Regions from separate parts of the Homo sapiens genome. Here region 2 is linked to region 1. The links are contacts of gene promoters, found by promoter capture Hi-C in blood cells and fetal thymus (Javierre and others, 2016). All regions are on one chromosome and are shown on one strand. Each heading gives the region's core, a stretch centred on a gene start or on the middle of the fragment in contact. The rest is flanking DNA. Distances are from core to core; before and after follow the strand shown.

Region 1 (3,761 bases), core at 1-2,500:
GGGCATTCACTACCTCGTGGCAAAGGGCACAGCTGATGACTACCTTTGGTATGGCTTGGTTGGGTGGCCTGGCAGTTGGAGTCGAGCAAGGGTGGAAACTGATGATATGTTTACTTTGCTCCCAAAGTGCTTCTGCTTTTGCTAAGTAAGGTCTTTAAGGATCTATAGAAAATTGACTAGTGATGCCCTCCTGCTTTCATCATGACCATATTTGGCCTCCCTCACTAGCGTTCACTGGTGGCTTGCAGGGTGCATGCTGAATCTTATAGCAATAAGGGGTTGTGGCTCCTTTTGCTGCTGGTCTGAGGCAGGGAGAAGTGCTGATTATGACAAAATATAGATGGAATTTAGTTTGTAAAACACCCTGTTCCCAGCTGTGAAGGCATTTGTTAGGACAGGGTGACAGTCTTTTACCTTTTATGATGTGCATTTATCTGGTGGGCACATCTTACATTGCTGCTGCTGGACCACAGGGAGAAAGTGGCTTACCCTGGACTGTGTAGTGTACTTCGTTAGCAGAGCTGGAGTAAGATTTTCAACCCTAGGGTTTTCTGTCTGTTACCTAAGTGAAAAATCTCAAAAAGCTTCTTCCCCTTATCTCCCCCTTCCTGATACAAAATTTCTTGATTATCTCATTTGTTTCCACTGCTTGTCTCTGTTTCCAGCCTTATGACTAAGGAGTCTTCCCTTTGCAATGTGTGTGGGTCACTCCTACTTCCCCCTTTTTAGTGGATTTGTTAATTGGGCAGCTCATAATACCACCAGATTCAAAATTGTGTTGAAATGAGGCAGCATTTATTTCCTACACATCTTCCATTAGAAAGAATATTGAACCTGATGATATTCTTAGCCCTAAATTGGAGTTTTTACAAATGAGAGGGGGCAAATTTTTCAAGATGGGTGTTTGCACCTTGAGAGATGCAGAGATGTGAAACCGTAAACAAGCCGTTGTCCCATAAGAACAAGGAGGGTGGCCTCATTTTCATTAGTCTGGTGGTTCTGTGCAGGTTGTATTCACTGCAGCTCATTTCTCCCCAACAGGCCCCTGATTCAAGAGAAGATTAAAGTTCTGGCAGAAGCCGGGCTTTCTGAGACCAATTTTTCAGAAATGACAGAATCCACTGATTACCTCTACAAGGTAATGCCAGCACATGGCTCTTCACCCCTGGAGCAGAGGGAGGCATTAAGCTGTCTGCCAAGTCTTTGGGTCCTGAGTAGGAGGATGTGAATCACTCCTAGGGACCTCCCCCAGCCTAGAGCTGAAAACAATGGCCTGCAGTCATTCTCAGTTGAACCATGCATGCATCGCTTTATGGGGAAATGATGGCATTAGCTCCTACAGCTGCTGACATTCCCGCACAGGCTCTGAATGCTGCCTCTTCCAGCAGGCCATTAGAAACTGACAAAACTCCCCATGGCAAATGTTGAATTGTTTCAAAAAGTACACAGCAACACCACACATAGGGCTGCCACAGGAATGCATCCCCAGCACAGAATGGGGAGTGTTTAAAATAGGGTACTGGCTTCATAGAATATATTTTCCCTTCTGTCATTTTATTTATTCTCAGTGTCTCCCCACTTGATAGAGGGGTAAACTGAGACATGGCAGTATAGTAGGTTTGCACAAAGTCACAGGGCATGTGAAGCCAGCCCAAGGAAGAAGGCTTCCTGACTTGGCCCAGCATTCCTCCTTTGAGCTCAGCCCTTGTTGTAAAGGAGTATAAGAGGCATCCCTCCATGACCAGGCAGGCCTTGTCAAAGGTGCTGAGGGGGAAGGCTGTTGCCTCTGAACAGGACAGCCCTGGGCCCATCATGCCTGCCTGGTTTCAGTGCTGCAGCCCAGTGGCTGCCACAGACTCTTCCTCCCCCATTTCAGTGAAACACAGTGGAGTGAGCAAGAGACCCAGAGCCTTCCAAAAGCTTGTTTTCCTTCCCCAGCTTGGATTGTTGGCCAGAAGGTGAAAACCAGGAGTATGCCCTCCTCGAGCACAGCTCATGGTTGAATTGTTTCTGCCAGGAGAGTTTGAACCAGGTCTGAGCCTCATGCAGAAAGGGGCCTTACGGTAGCTTATCAGGAAAGTGAAGCACCTCCTCCTTCCTGTGAAATCACCATCAGAATATTGAGTTAGGCCACACATGGTGGTGCACACCTGTAGTCCCAGCTACTCCAGAGGAAAAGGTGAGGATCACTTGAGCCTAGGAGGTCAAGGCTGTAGTTAGCCATGATGGTCACTGTACTCTAAACTGGGCAACAGAGCAAGAGCCTGCCTCAAAAAAAAAAAAAGAGAAAGAAAAAAGTTTAAATAAATAAGAAGTTGAGTTAAATCTTATCGTTGACACCAAGACTTAAGACTCTGTGGATCTGCTCATTCACTTACATTTATTTAGCAAATAAATTCTTTCTTTGCAAGGATTTATTTGCTAAATATTGGGATAAATAAGACTCAGATCATATTTTTAAATGCAGACTGCAAATTATCCTTTCAGACATATATAGTTAATAAGCCAATTTTAAAACAACCTTATTTTTAAGCTTTTTAAAGAACTCTCCAGTTCAGCTGAATGGTAAATGGTAACAGAGCCTAGGTTATTACAAGCCTTTTGAAAAGAAATAGTCTGAGCAGGCATAGTGGCTCAAGCCTCTAATCCCACACTGAGGCGGACAGATGACTTGAGCCCAGGAGTTTGAGACCAGCCTGGGCAACATGGTGAAACCCCCATCTCTACAAAAAATACAAAAATTAGCCAGGCATGATGGCACATGCCTGTATTCCCAGCTACTCAGGAGACTGAGGCAGGAGGATTCCCTGAACCTGGGAGGCAGAGGTTGCAGTGGGCCAAGATCACACCACTGCATTTCAGCCTAGGCAACAGAGACAGACCTTGTCTCAAAAAAGAAAAAAAAGAAAGCCTATTTTTAAAGGATTCTCACTTGAACTCATTTATTCCTCCTTGCCTTTCTCTTACTCTAAATTGGTTAAGCATTTCTACCTAAAATATAAGTACAAGGTAATATAAATGAGTTTTATCAATATTTTGATCAATAACTATATCAATTTATTTTTTAATTAAGATGGGGCTGAAAATTTTATCAACTACTAGAAAAAGAAAATGTTGCTTCCAATATAGGAGACAAAAGCAGAAGAGGTTATATCTCACTGAGATAGCCTTCCTTCTGAGAGGGGAAATGAAATATTAATCTGATCTTGGAACTCGCTTCCAATTAATTATGCATGCCCCGAGTCAGCATACAGTGTTGCCATCATCATAATCAAATGCACATTAGCAGCTTTTTCTACTTGGAATAGGCTGCCTTGCAGGGTGGCGTTTCCTTGACATTGCAGTCATTCAGAAAGAGGCTGATGAGGGCATCCTGGAGGAGGACATGTGGGTTATTTGGGGGTCAGCCTTGATGATCTTTCATATCATTTCCCTCTCTGCAAGGCTGGGATCCTGAAAGGCTAGGAGATTTCGGGTGCAGGTTAATTGAATAATCTGGAGTTCTTACATGACAGGCTGTCATGATCAATTTTCAAGGAACTCTACTTCACCAATGTGGAGGGATTTGGTTAAGGAATAGTGAGGAACAGTGGCCAGGTACGTTGAGACCTAATTCTATAAAGGCCTGAAAAGCCAGGGGAGCAACTGTAGACTTGATGAGGTAGGGACAGCGGAGCCCAAAGACATGACCAAAAAAATCTTTAAAGGAGAGCCTGGGGGTAAAAATCAGCTGGCAAAGATCTGTAGGCTGTTTGAAATGG
Region 2 (3,761 bases), core at 430-2,929, 400 kb before region 1:
GGAGTGCAGTGGCTTGACGTCAGCTCATTGCAACCTCTGCCTCCCAGGTTCAAGCGATTCTTGCGCCTCAACCTCCCAAGTAGCTGGGACTACAGGTGTACGCCACCATGCCTGGTTTGTATTTTTAGTAGAAATGGAGTTTCACCATGTTGGCCAGGCTGGTCTCAAACTCCTGACCTCAGGTTATCTGCCCGCCTCGGCCTCTCAAAGTGCTGGAATTACAGGCGTGAGCCACTGCGCCAGGACCAATAGCAAGATATTTAAACGGAAGCATTATATTTCATTGTTATTGATTTAACTATTTTCCTTATATTGGATTTTTAGGTAATTTCCATTTTTTCACTACTCAAGACTACATCCTTGCATGAAAATCTTTGCTTGACTCCGTTTCCTTAAATTCCTGAAAAAGGAATTACTGTCATAGAGCATAAACATTGTGAAGGTTTTTGGATCTTTTTTTCCAAATTGCCTTCCAGAAAGTTTGTAATAATTTACATTCCTGCCTTCTCATTCCTGCATCAACACTTTAATTTTTCCCAACATTTCAAAATTTTGTTAGAAAAGTTAAATCTTACTGTTTCATATTTTATTACCAATAAAGTTGATTATTTTTTCATATGTTTCTTGCCTGTCTGTAGTTCTTCTTTTGGAACGCTTAGTCCATACCATTAGTCTAATTTTTCTATCAGTGTGTTGGATTTTTTCTTTATTTGTAAGAGCTCTTTATGTATAAGGCTGTTGGCCGAATCTAGTGGCTCAGCCTGTAATCCCAAAACTTTAGGACTCAGAGGCAAGGCAGGAGGATCCCTTGAACCCAGGTGTTCGAGACCAGCGTAGGCAACAGAGTGAGACCCTATCTCAAAACCAACAAACAATTTATCTTATGTTGCAAATATTTTTCTTCATATGCCTTTAAACTTTATATATTTTTTTAATTCAATGAGGATTTACACTTTCATACAGGTAGATTGATTTATGTTCTCCTTTGTGGTTTATTCCCTCACTTATGTGTTTACAAAGGCCTTCCTTCACCCAAGTTAAGGTAAATATTCAGCATATTTCCTTGCTGTGGTTAAGAGATGTGAGAAGATACTATGAGAGACTCACTATGTTCACAACTTTTTCCAGTTAAATGAAGTCTTCCCACGTTTCCTAATCACTCACATTAAGCATATAGAATGGATTAATTTTAAATCTGAATATAAAACTAATTGCACAGCATGTTTCACTGCTCTTCTTACTGCCTACCTGGGGCACAGTCTCTTTGGCCTGAGTGGTCTCTTCAGTTTTTAACGAGTGGCTCCACAATTCCTTAGGAAGAGCTGCTCTCTTCTGTCTCCCTGGTGGTCGTAATTTCGCCCACACCTGCCCCGTCTTTGCTCTGCAGCTCCACACTCCCTCAGCCCCGCCGAGAGCTCCTGGCTCCCGTCTCCAGGTTACCCCAGGTCACCACAGCCACCTCTCTGCACCAGCGGCCCGCTCACGTACCCAGCTCCAGGAGCTCCTTCACGATGGCTTTTCCGATGCCCGTGGCCCCGCCGGTGACGATGGCCACTTGGCCCTGCAGCAAACCAGGCGCCAGGTAGCTCCTGCCCTTAGCCCAGGAGGCCATCCCTGCAGCGGGGTGCCAGAGCAGCTGAGCGCAGGCCCTTCTGGGTCTCAGGGACATTCGAGGCGGGCGGGCGGACAGGGCGGTGCTCGAGCCCACGTGACCACCAGAACCCCGCACCCTCCCCGGCCCGGCCCCGCCCCGCCCGCCGGCCGCGGCAAAGCCGCATCCTCCCGGAGCAGAACCGCTCCCCGCCGGCTGTCCGCAACCTCCGCCAGCGTCGGTCCCTGGGCAGGTGTGGGTGAGACTGCTCGTTCGTTTCTTTAAATTTCGATGCCATTGGGGAGGGTGGAAGGGAAATGCAAAAAAAAAAAAAGAAGAAGAAAGAAACAAGCAGGGTGTGCTCTATTTCAAAAATTCAATCCTCAGGGCTGAAGCTCTCACGATTAATTAAAATTAAATCTCCAGTGCAGCTGGAAAAAGAAAGGCTGCTGCTCGGCGCCCTCGCTGCGCCCGCCTGCCGGGGTCGGACGTCGGCGATGCTGTGGCTCCAGGTGCTGTGTGCCGCTGGCTGGGAAGGGGAGAAAGGGCAGGCTTAGCTGAGGGGGAGAAATGCGGCTTTCAGATCCTTTCATCCTTCGGGAGGGAGCCCGGGAAAGAGAGTGAAGGGGAAGAGGAGATGCGGTTGCAGTTTTCCACAGAACCAAGAGAATAAACGATTTGAAAAAATAAACTCAGGCCCACCTCCGTCTCACCTCCCACTCCCCACCCAAGAATCAAGGGGAAAGATCATCTTTACCAGGTTTGAGACCTGATCCATTTCAGCTGAGCTGCATAGCGAGTCCAGAAGAGGATCTTTCCTTGAAGGGTGCACGCTTCCTGCAAGATGCATCTGTAGGTGTTTGAGATCATGTCCTGTAGTTCATTCCTTGTGCAGGAGGGTGAGCCCGCTGAGGATGGGGAAAATTTCTCGTCTGTGTTATGGTGCCCAGTAACAGTGATTTATTATTCAGATCTGCTCCTTATTTTTCATCTTGCTTCCCGCTCTGAACCCACCAGAGTGAGATTACACCTGGACTGGCCTACTGAGACTTCACCCTAAGAACTTGGTCGAATGTGCCAGTTGCTGTGGTCTTAACAATCCAGATGGGATGCTATTTCTAAGGCTGTTGTCAGAGTGTTGCATTTTCCCCGGACAGGTATTAAAATAATATAAAGGCAAATAAATGCCATCATCCTTTTGTTGGACCTACCACCTAGGATTCACAAAGCCAATTGGAAATGGGTCTGGTTGACAGAGGAATCAGACCATCACTTCCTCCACCAGGTCCCACCCACCAGCGAGGCTGCAGTTCTTGTTGGACAGCTACACTTCCCTGTTGCTCCATCCTCTTGTCCTTCTCTGATCTCTTTTTAGAATCACTTCTCCCTCTATCTTTGTTGCTGACAGATTCAAATCTACACTCGTTAAAGAAAGGAATAAATCTCCTGGTTACCATTTGCTAGATAGTTTATCCAGGAATCACTTAACTCTACTACTTAAGTCAATTCTGTAGTTAGGACCAAATTTTTAAAATTACAACGCCATCACCTCCTTTAAAACAAAGTAAATTCAAACAGGAAAGCTCAAAGTGTTGTTGCAGAAACATATAACTCCTCTTGGTTTGATCCCAATGACAAGGTGTTTTTTTTTAAGGAAAAGAAATATTGATTCAGTTCTGAGGGGTATCTTATTCAAGAGAAGTCCAGACTTTCTTTCTTGTGGGTGGGGACACTTTAAATTCTTTTAAATGATAACTTTATTGAAGATATAACTTAACATGATTTATGCCCTGGTCTGGACCTATAGATTCTTAGAGGTGTGCCAGGGTGGGTCAGTGGGAAGCTGGCTGTGCTGCAGCTTCCGTGTGGCTGCTGAGCGGACTGAGAGTGGGATTCTGATGTCTTCCAGTGAAACAGGGACTGGGGCCTGCAAACCGGTTATGCCTACTGAGGATGACAAGGTGCCATTCCTCAGCTGCAAGGAAGTTGCAGGATGAACAGTCAGAAGGCGATTTTTCATGATCCAGGCAGAACCTGCAATTAAGAGAGCTTTGGGGTCTCTTCAAGCGATCTTTTGTTTAAAATTAGGAGGCATGATCTCTTTGCCTCTGCCTCTGACCTCTGTCAGGGTTTGAAAGTCCACTAATCCGCTAAGTTCCAGGCCAAAAGG

The links. Contacts are between HindIII fragments. The CHiCAGO score rates a contact against its expected background, and 5 or more counts as called.
Region 2: a contact is called between the fragment with the promoter of PECR here and a fragment that was not itself captured in region 1, in 1 of 17 cell types (activated CD4 T cells). The highest score is 5.2, in activated CD4 T cells.

The regions. Positions count from the first base shown.
Region 1 is chr2:216,477,162-216,480,922 of GRCh38, forward strand. SMARCAL1 (SNF2 related chromatin remodeling annealing helicase 1) reads left to right here. Exons shown (of 18, transcript NM_014140.4): 16 at 1-48; 17 at 1,042-1,138. Among named protein-coding and RNA genes, the nearest start is that of RPL37A-DT, 20 kb to the right of the region's middle. The HindIII fragment of the contact is 1,336 bases long and covers 583-1,918 here.
Region 2 is chr2:216,080,130-216,083,890 of GRCh38, forward strand. PECR (peroxisomal trans-2-enoyl-CoA reductase) reads right to left here and starts at 1,680. Exons shown (of 8, transcript NM_018441.6): 1 at 1,489-1,680. The coding sequence starts at 1,612. TMEM169 (transmembrane protein 169) reads left to right here and starts at 1,790. Exons shown (of 3, transcript NM_001142311.2): 1 at 1,790-1,850. RefSeq lists enhancers at 1,282-1,361, 1,392-1,441 and a silencer at 1,632-1,891. The HindIII fragment of the contact is 11,582 bases long and covers 1-3,761 here.